Linked DNA regions of Homo sapiens: all the other regions are linked to region 1. The links are contacts of gene promoters, found by promoter capture Hi-C in human tissues and cell types (Jung and others, 2019). All regions are on one chromosome and are shown on one strand. Each heading gives the region's core, a stretch centred on a gene start or on the middle of the fragment in contact. The rest is flanking DNA. Distances are from core to core; before and after follow the strand shown.

The links. The method cuts DNA at HindIII sites, captures the fragments that hold promoters and counts their contacts. A contact is called where the count stands out against the background at its distance.
Region 2: a contact is called between a fragment that was not itself captured here and the fragment with the promoter of BDKRB1 in region 1, in 1 of the 25 tissues and cell types used here (IMR-90 fibroblasts).
Region 3: a contact is called between a fragment that was not itself captured here and the fragment with the promoter of BDKRB1 in region 1, in 2 of the 25 tissues and cell types used here (IMR-90 fibroblasts and heart left ventricle).

Annotation. Positions count from the first base shown.
Region 1 is chr14:96,254,552-96,257,748 of GRCh38, forward strand. It overlaps BDKRB1 (bradykinin receptor B1), which reads left to right and starts at 1,659. Exons shown (of 3, transcript NM_000710.4): 1 at 1,659-1,749. The HindIII fragment of the contact is 16,224 bases long and covers 1-3,197 here.
Region 2 is chr14:95,527,077-95,530,273 of GRCh38, forward strand. No RefSeq gene overlaps it. Among named protein-coding and RNA genes, the nearest start is that of SNHG10, 6.2 kb to the right of the region's middle. The HindIII fragment of the contact is 7,739 bases long and covers 1-3,197 here.
Region 3 is chr14:95,563,982-95,567,178 of GRCh38, forward strand. No RefSeq gene overlaps it. Among named protein-coding and RNA genes, the nearest start is that of LINC02318, 8.0 kb to the right of the region's middle. The HindIII fragment of the contact is 4,366 bases long and covers 1-3,197 here.

The sequences.
Region 1 (3,197 bases), core at 409-2,908:
GAAGAGGGTCCTCAGTGCCTACCCACTTCTTAGTCCCCTGCTATCTTCTGCCACACTATAGGGACCTGCTTTTCTTTCACAGATTTGGGGTCCCCTCCCCCTGCCCTCAGCCCCACTCCCTTGGCCCCAGAGACAGTAGGAGACCCTCTGCTCCCCTGAGCCCGGGCCTGTCTCGCATTTCCCGTGGAGATGAGCAACAAGGGGAAACGTGGGTCTTCTTAAAGAACTTTCCTTTCCGCCCTCCACCACCTTGGCAAGGCAGCCAGATGCATCTCCGAAGTCCAGCTCACTCAGGCCAGCTCTCTTCACAGACTGTCTTCCAGCAAGAGGCAAAGCAGAGATGAGACCTGCACGTGCTCTTTGTGGCAGAGCTGGCCTTATACGCACTCCTGGGTGAATAAACAGGGAGACATCTCCTAAGAACAAACGCTTCTCAGAAACAGTATAGTCTAAACTCATACTGAAGGGAGAATAAGCCAGCCACGGGCTGGAGAGACCCCCGCCTACATTACTAAGTAACAGGAAAGGCTAAGATTTGGAGCCTTCCTCCGGTTCAGATCTATCCCGGGAGTAATGGAAGATGCTTGCCTGTTGACAATTTTTTTTTATTAAAAATCCCACCCAGGAGGTCTCTCCTGATAGGAGGGGACCATCCTATCCTCTAAGGCAAATTCCAGCTTCTTCCCTGAAATGTACATCCGCTACTGAGCCTCAGAATGCTATTTGTTCCACCTACTTCCACAGTTTTAAGGTCTTCAGCAACAGGAGAAGACAGCAGGAAAACTTGAAGTGCAGTTGGCTCCCGCTGAGATGTCACTAGCAGAAAAAGGGAACACAAGCAAAAGGCAAGATTCTAAAGACAGAGGTGACACCTTCTGCTCCAAACATTTGGAGGGTCACCTTTCCAGAAGTCAGACTCGAAGTCCTGAATTCTGGCATGAATGAGTTCTCCTACGTGTAGGGGGTGGCCTGGAAAGATCTTAATTTGTAAGTTGACAGGTAAGGGGCCTTCAGTTGGAGAATCTTGTCACCTGATTCTCAAAGCCAAAAATATCTTACTGTCTGAAACATGAGGTCTTGAGTAGTTCAACTTGACCCATGCAGACATAATTTGAGAGACGCCAAGGAGGATTAGGAAAAAATGTATCTGGTCTTACTCAACTCTGAACATTGCATGAGTCAAACGTTTTCCTAGCTCTCTGTTTGTGTGATGGGTCCACTCTGATGGATTCTTGGCGATGTATCTTTCATGACCAAAATTCAAAAGAGGCCATTCGAAGTGGCTCCCACAAAAGCTGCTGCAGAGCCCCAGACATTCAGAAGCCAATAGTGAAGGGGCCAAAAGCCATCCCTCAATGTTCACTGACACTTTGCGAGCCTTGGGGCAAGTTGGCGATGTCAAAACATGTTTTTAGGGCGTGTTTGCCAACATACAGGTCTTGGGCAGGATTGCAGACCTCTGCAGATGGTACCAAAGTAAAGGGGGAGATGGTAGCTGAATAATCTCTTATCATCCCTAAAGTGCAAAGTGAAATGAGAGTGGATTTTTCCTTCCAAATCCACTTGGAGTGAGTCCCGAAAGACTCACTTTTGCGGCAATCCCCACAATGACATCACTGGAGCGGAGGTTATATAATTTAAAGCAACCACATCTCCACAGCACTTCCCAGAAGAGAAAACTCCTCCAAAAGCAGCTCTCACTATCAGAAAACCCAACTACAGTTGTGAACGCCTTCATTTTCTGCCTGAGTAAGTAAATGACCACCTTTTTTTTTTCTTTTATGAGAGTACAATATGAGAGGAAATCTGTGTCTCTTAGAAAAACAAAAAACTTCCTTTTACACCTACCTATTGGCAAAATTTTCCACTTCTGTGAGGGTACTTTTTAAAAATAATTCTAAATCAATTTAAGAGACTTTTATTTCATGCCTAGTTTGGGTCTTAATTGCTTTTCCAGAACAGGAGGAGGAGGGAAAGGTTTTAGAACTCGTAGGAAGGTTCCAGTAGCTCCTTATATCAAAGTCAGGTGAAACATGTCAGGGCTGAATGCAGCCACCAGAGTTCGCATGGACTGACCAGTTACAGCCTGCAAATTCTGAATCATAAAAATTAAATTAGTCTCTCTGGGATGGCTTACAAGATTTCATAAGACCAATAACTGGTTGGGTTATTCGTGGCTTGAAAGTAGCATCTTACTATGTGACCGTGCTGATGGTCTTTAACATCTGTGGCTGAATTTCCAATGCCTTTAACATCACCATGCTGTTGAAATTGGAGTTAATTTGAAGAATTAACTAATTTGTTGAAGAAAGTCACACTGTCTCATAGCCTAGGTTAAAATGTGCAGAATTCAGAAAATACCACACAGGAATTACAGAATTGCCATCTCTTGTAGACTTGCCCAGTGCCCCTTCTGAGTTCTTCAAATAGGGTCACATATTACTAACAATATCCAGAGATATTGTTTATTGAGCACCTACTATGTTCCAGGCAAATATCAGAGCTAAAGCTGAAAACTGGCAAAGGAAGATTTCTCCTCTCTAGCCAACTTTATAAACACAGACAGCAGCAGGTGAGGACAATCCCTTTAAAAATAAGCCCCATGTGAGCAGACACATGCTGTGGCTGCAGTGGCCCCAGCCACCTCCCCGTCCTGGGGATGGGGGCGGTGTCCACTGACCTAATCAGGTTCGAGCTAAAGTCCCTGCGTAGCTGGTCGTCTCTGGCTTCCTGGGCAGGGTGCAGCCTCACCCCCGTGCTGGTTTCCTAAGGCTGCTATAATTAATTATCACAAAGTGAGTGGCTTAAAACGATGCAAGTTATTATCTTACAGTTCTGGAGATCAGGAGTTCAAACTCAGTCTCGCTGAGCTAAAGTCAAGATATTGGCTTGGCTTTGTTCTCCATCCCCATGATTCAATTATCTCCCACCAAGTCCCTCACACAACACGAGAGAATTATGGGAGCTACAACTCAAGATGAGATTTGGGTGGGGACACAGCCAAACCATATCAGTGCTCAACACCCTCCCATCTCTTCTCAAACTCTCAATGCCCCAGCCCCTCCACCACAGGTCAGGACCTCGCCTCCTTTCTCCCTGAGAAATCCCAACCAATCGCCGGGGAATTCTACAGATTCCCACCTGCCAGCCTCTGTCACCATAGACCTCAGCTTCCTGGCCATCATCAGAGATAGCTA
Region 2 (3,197 bases), core at 1-2,500, 730 kb before region 1:
AAGCTGTGTGTGTGTGTGTGTGTGTGTAGTTTTTGTTGGCAAGCTAAAATAAACTGCATGTTTCCTTGACTTCCTATTCAGAGCATGGGGAAAAGAATTTCTTTTTCTTGCTCGGAAGCATAATACAAGGCACTAGTGCACAAGGAACAGTCACGGGTGAAGACTGTTCGCCCCTCCTTACATCGAATGCCCCAGAATGCTGCTTTTTAAGAAGAATCCCAGAATGTCTGCCTCTTAGTGCTTCACCTTTCACTTACTGTTCAGTCATTGTTTCTTTCTGCTTTTAGTGTTAGCCTTTTAAAATTTACTGCTTCTGATCTGTTGTGGTTATATTAGAAAACTAAGTAAGTTAGCTATTCCCTAAAATAAGAATAGCACTTGGGTAAGAACTGAGAGACTTTTCCTAGAATTGAGCAAAATGATTAATTCCCAGAGAATGTATAATTACAGGGGCAGCCCTTATTGGCTCTTGCCCCAGCTTCCTCAGTAAAATAGACTAGTGCCCCCTACCTGCCTTGCCAGGAAAGACAGAGACTCATTCTATTATAAAATGTATTTCTCAAAACCAGAATGACTTTGAAAGATGTGTTATTTTTCTGAACACAAGTAAAAATTCCTTCAAGTAAGAGGATATTATTTGCTCTGTAATTAGACAGCCAATAGTATGTGTGGATTATCACGGATCTGTGGCTGCATGGTATGAAGAGATGAACCAACGGGAATATCCCATTGATTTCACATCGACTAGACTGGCATGTCCCCTCAAGGCTGCACTCATACAGCTATGATATGAAAATGCCAGATCACCGTCTATCTGGAGAGGGAAGAAGGTTTGCCAATATAACAGCTTCTCCTCAAGTCACCCAATTTTGCCTATGTAATAAAGCTTATGCAAAAAAAACTCCTTTTTTTTTAAACAAAATGTAATTGTTTTATGATAGTCTTTTTTTTTTTTTTTAAGATGAACTTTTGCTCTTGTTGCCCAGGCTGGAGTGCAATGGCGTGATCTTGGCTCACTGCAACCTCTGCCTCCTGGGTTCAAGTGATTCTCCGGCCTCAGCCTCCTCAGTAGCTTGGATTACAGGCACCCGCCACCACGCCCGGCTAATTTTTTGTATTTTTAGTAGAGATGGGGTTTCACCATGTTGGCCAGGCTGGTCTCAAATTCCTGACCTCAGGTGATCCATCTGCCTCGGCCTCCCAAAGTGCTGGGATTACAGGCATGAGCCACCACACCCAGTCTTTTGATAGTCTTTTATTAAAACTCTTTGAAACTGTGGCTCACTAAAATTTGATATCAATGAACAATATCTCACTAGGATACCCTTTCAAAAAATATTAAGTTTAGAATTAGCAAATAGGATTTTTCTGGCTGTAAAAGGAGAACAAAAAAATTTAAAATCCTCCATTTTTTTTTGCCAGCAAAGGAAAATGAATAATTAATGCCTCATCCCATTTCTAACTTGAATCATCCCTCCCCTCCCTGCAATTAAACTGGGGTGAATTTCTTTTTTGCTAGATGAACTGTTTTCTATTTATTTGTTTATTTCTGAGACAGAGTCTTGCTCTGTCGCCCAGGCTGGAGTGCAGTGGTGCGATCTTGACTCACTGCAACCTCCACCTCCTGGGCTCAAGCAATTTTCCTGCCTCAGCCTCCCAAGTAGCTAGGACTACAGGCACCCACCACCATGCTCGCCTAATTTTGCATTTTTAGTAGAGCCGGGGTTTCACCATGTTGGCCAGGCTGGTCTCGAACTCCTGACCTCAGGTGATCCACCCGCCTCGGTCTCCCAAAGTGCTGGGATTACAGGCATGAGCCACTGCGCCAGGCCTAGATGAACGATTGAAGAAGGCTGGAGCAATGGGTTCCCACAATAGCAAGACTGCATTTTGAAGGCATGAAATTATTAAAGCTCAAAGACTGAAGTACAAAGTGAAATTCTGACTCATGATAAAGTGTATTTATGGCCTTGGCAATACATCTTAGCAATTATTCAAAAGAAAACAATTAAATTTCCTAAATGTTCTTCTGGCTGCAAACTCAGTGACTATCAGAGGGAGACATAAACTTCTGCTAACAGATAAATCTTCCTAACAGGTTGGATACACAACAGCACTGCCTCCTTACTCTTTCTATTCTGCGATCTAGGGACCTTTTCAGGTCTCTGGAATGTAATAATTTGAGTTATAGAAACTATCTGCTGGTTAAAAAAAAAAGAAACACATAATACTACAAAACACTGCCATTAAACAGGCAGTTGGGGAAAATAAACAATTCTTTCATCACCTTTAACCAAAAGGCTTAACAAGTTTTACGATTACCACTTAATTCTCAATACCACTTTCCGGGAGATATGATTCAGGCCCATGTCCTTGTTATTAAATAAGGCTTGCAACAGAATGAAATCCAACAGGTGTATGACTTTCAAGGCACGCAGCCGAGGAGCTTGGCCCTCAATGCGAGAAAGCAGCGTGGGGACAAGAGGAACATAGCTTTCAGAAACAGCAGGCTATAGGCTTAGATTTTTTTTTATTAGATTTTTGGTTTTCTGTGTGTTTGTCTGTTTTTTTGAGTTGGAGTCTCGCTCTGTTGCCCAGGCTGGAGTATGCAGTGAAGTGGCGAGATCTCAGCTCACTGCAACCTCCGCCTCCTGGGTTACAGCAATTCTCCTGCCTCAGTCTCCAAGCAGCTGGGATTACAGGTGCCCGCTACCACGTCCGGCTAATTTTTTGTATTTTTAGTAGAGATGGGGTTTCGCCATGTTGGCCAGGCTGGTCTTGAACTCCTGACCTTAGGTGATCTGCCCGCCTTGGCCTTCCAAAGTGCTGGGATTACAGATGTGAGCCACCACGTCCAGCTATTAGATCTCTGGATTGAACTTTTGTCATTTTAATTTACAAAGCCCAAAAATCATCTGTGTATCTAGTATATATGCAGAGCCAGCAAAGATAACTGGGATAGTTGATTTTCTACAGGACTTGTTGGTGATGCTATGAATCAGCAGGAAAACAGAAATTGCATGTGAAGGCAACAAAACTTAGAGACACAAGTGCTAATGTCTATCAACATATTATATTAGAAAAAAACATAATTTGGAGACCAAAATGTCTGAGAACTGTTATCCTAGGGTTAATGTATGCTTCGAATGAATTCATGTATACACACAAAAATTTAACAAAAAAGTACAATCTATGCA
Region 3 (3,197 bases), core at 266-2,765, 690 kb before region 1:
TGCCATGTCCCCAGAAAGGACACCCGTGAGGCTGAGCTTTGCTGAGAAGGTGCCCGGGATATCTCATGGGCAGGGAGTGGTAGGGGTAGACCCTCCCAGTCCTTCCAAATGCCCGTGGAAATCTGCTGGCAGCTGCAAAGGCCTGGCCCAGACACCCTCAGAGATGTTGGTTAATGTGTGGGATTCAGAGGCCCAGGTGTCAGGGAAAATAAAGACAAGGATGCTGGCTGGCTGCCTTCCTCCTTGGCAGTTTGCAAAGTCAATGAGTCAATGTCCCAGAACAGGGCCTTTGGGGAGAAAAGTAGCCAGCTGCGGCTGTGTCCCTGCTGGGAGTGGCTTGCTGAGAACAGTCTTGCTAACCAGCTTCTGTTGGGTTGTGCTGTGTTTGTGGGGTCAGAGTGATGATGGTGTTATTGGCGTCACAAAAAACTGCATGTGGGGGTGCGGTCTGAGCCCCAGGGTCCAAGCTCACTGCTGTGCCGCCATGGTGATCGAGCATCGCGGGTTCCCCTCGCTGTGGGTTTGGGATCAGGCAGTACCTGGTATGGTGCTTGTCTCTTACTGTGAGACCCTGGGCAAACCTGCCCCTCCCTTCTACTCCACAGGCCTTTTCACCTGTCAGAGGGGAGAAGAGTAACATCTGGTTGGGCACAATGCCTCACATCTGTAATCCTGACACTTTGGGAGGCTGAGGAGGGTGGATTGCTTGAGCTCAGGAGTTCAAGACCACCCTGGGCCACATAATATGACCTTGTCTCTAATAATAATAAATAAATAAAATAAAAGAGTAGGCCAAGCACAGTGGTTCACACCTGTAATCCCAGCACTTTGGGAGGCTGAGGTGGGTGGATCACTTGAGGTCAGGAGTTCGAGACCAGCCTGGCCAACATGGTGAAAACCCATCTCAACTAAAGATTTTTAAAAATTAGCCAGGTGTGGCCAGGTGTGGTGGCTCACGCCTGTAATCCCAGCACTTTGGGAGGCCGAGGTGAGCGGATCACGAGGTCAGGAGATCGAGACCGTCCTGGCTAACATGATGAAACCTTATCTCTACTAAAAATACAAAAAAAATCAGCCGGACGTGGTGGCGGGCACCTGTAGTCCCAGCTACTTGGGAGGCTGAAGCAGAAGAATGGCAGAACCCAGGAGGCGGAGCTTGCAGTGAGCCAAGATCGCACCACTGGACTCCAGCCTGGGCAACAGAGTGAGACTCCGTCTCAAAAAAAAAAAAAAAATTAGCCAGGTGTGGTGGTGTGCATCTGTAATCCCAGCTACTTAGGAGGCTGAGGCAGGAGAATCGTTTGAACCCGGGAGGGGGAGGTTGCAGTGAGCCGAGATCATGCCACTGTACTCCAGCCTGGGCAACAGAGCAAGATTCCATCTCAAAAAAAAAAAAAAAAAAAAAAAAAAAAAAAAAAAAAGAGTAATACCTAAGGGAGTATTTGTGAGTTTTAAAGAAAAAAAAAATGCATGTAACATGTCCAGAACAGAACCTGGTGCATTGGAAGCTCTGAATAAATATTATCTTATATCATCATCATCATCATCATTAAGTGGGAACAATTGTTGAGAAATTGATATCAATTGTTTGTAAGAAGTTTTCTAGAAAACACATTGGCCCCCACTCTATCCCCAAGCCCTTCTCAATGGTAGCTCCTAACACAGTGCTGGAGTGTTTGTTAAATGGCCAGGAACTGCTGCTGTTTAACCCGGGGCCTTTAATTGGTGTTGCTGTATCAGGAAATATGGAAGAGGGATTCCCTGGCACCTTTGCTCAACAACCCTGCCTATCTAGTATGGGTCTAGGTGTCTTCATTCATCCATCCATCCCTCCATTCATTCATTCATCAAAGCACTTTTATATACAATATATACTTGATGCCAGGTACTGTGCAAGACATCAGGCACACAATAGAGAGCTAAACCGGGCATGGCTGCTGTGCACAGGTAGCCAGTGGGAGCCAGGCCTTAATCAGACCATCCCATTGATGATAGAAGGGCACTGAAGGACAGGGAGGCTGTTTCCATGAAAGGAGACCTGGGCGTGGGGTGGTCAAGTAAAGCTTCCAGGAGGAAGTTATGCTTCAGGTGAAACTGGAAGGACACATGGGATGAGTGGAAAGGACTTGGACACAAGAGGAAAGGGGAAGGAGGAAGGCAGGGCCCTGCAAGAGCTGGAACCCCCTGGGGTGGGATAAAGGAGGGCACTCTCTTTTGACTCTGGGCATGTTGTAAGAGGAACCTGTTTCACACCAGGGACATTAATAGCAGCCAAATCAGCCTTGACCCCAGAGCAGAATGGGAGACACTGTCTCTTGTGGACATGGAATGGGGGCTGCATTTTCAGCAACAAAACTGGAGGGGGCGCTCCAGGTCCAACACTACTCTGGCTCATATTGTCTCAAGGCTGTGAGAGTCCAAGAAATAAGGATCACAGCAAAGAAGACCTTGTTTTTCTCACTTCTGACCTGGTGCCTTGGTGAGCGTTCCCCAACGCATCTTAACATACATTCATGGGCCCTAGAAGGGCACTGGATTAGAAACCAGCGAATTGGGAGTCCAGCTCTGACTCTGCATGGCCTACCGCCATCCACCAGGAGCTGGGCAGCTTCCAAGGGCAGTGGCCAGTCTGTTTGGCCGTGTCCCCCACCCAGCATAGTGCCAGGCCTATAAAAGCCTTGGTGGGGCCGGGCAGGGTGGCTCACACCTGTAATCCCAGTACTTTGTGAGGCCGAGGCGGGCAGATCACCCAAGGTCGAGAGTTTGAGACCAGCCTGGCTGGCCAACATGGCAAAACCCCATCTCTACTAAAATACAAAAATTAGCTGGGTGTGGTGGCACATGCCTGTAATCCCAGCTGCTAGGGAGGCTGGGGTAGGAGAATTGCTTGAACCCGGGAGGTGGAGGTTGCATGAGCTGAGATCACACCACTGCACTCCAGCCTGGGCGACAGAGCAAGACTCTGTCTAAGAAAAAAAATGCTTGGTGGTGTTTGTTAAGTGATTAAAATCTAAAGACAAAGCTGGCAGGAACCAACTAGAAAACCAGTCACCTGAGAAAGAATAGGTACATGGGCAGCTGTGGGCCAAGAGCCCAAGGCTCCACTGGAGCTCATAGAACTTTGTGAACCTGTAGGTGGATCTCTTTCATCAGTTTTGGAAAATTCTCAGCCATTATCTCTCCAGATACTAGGTCTG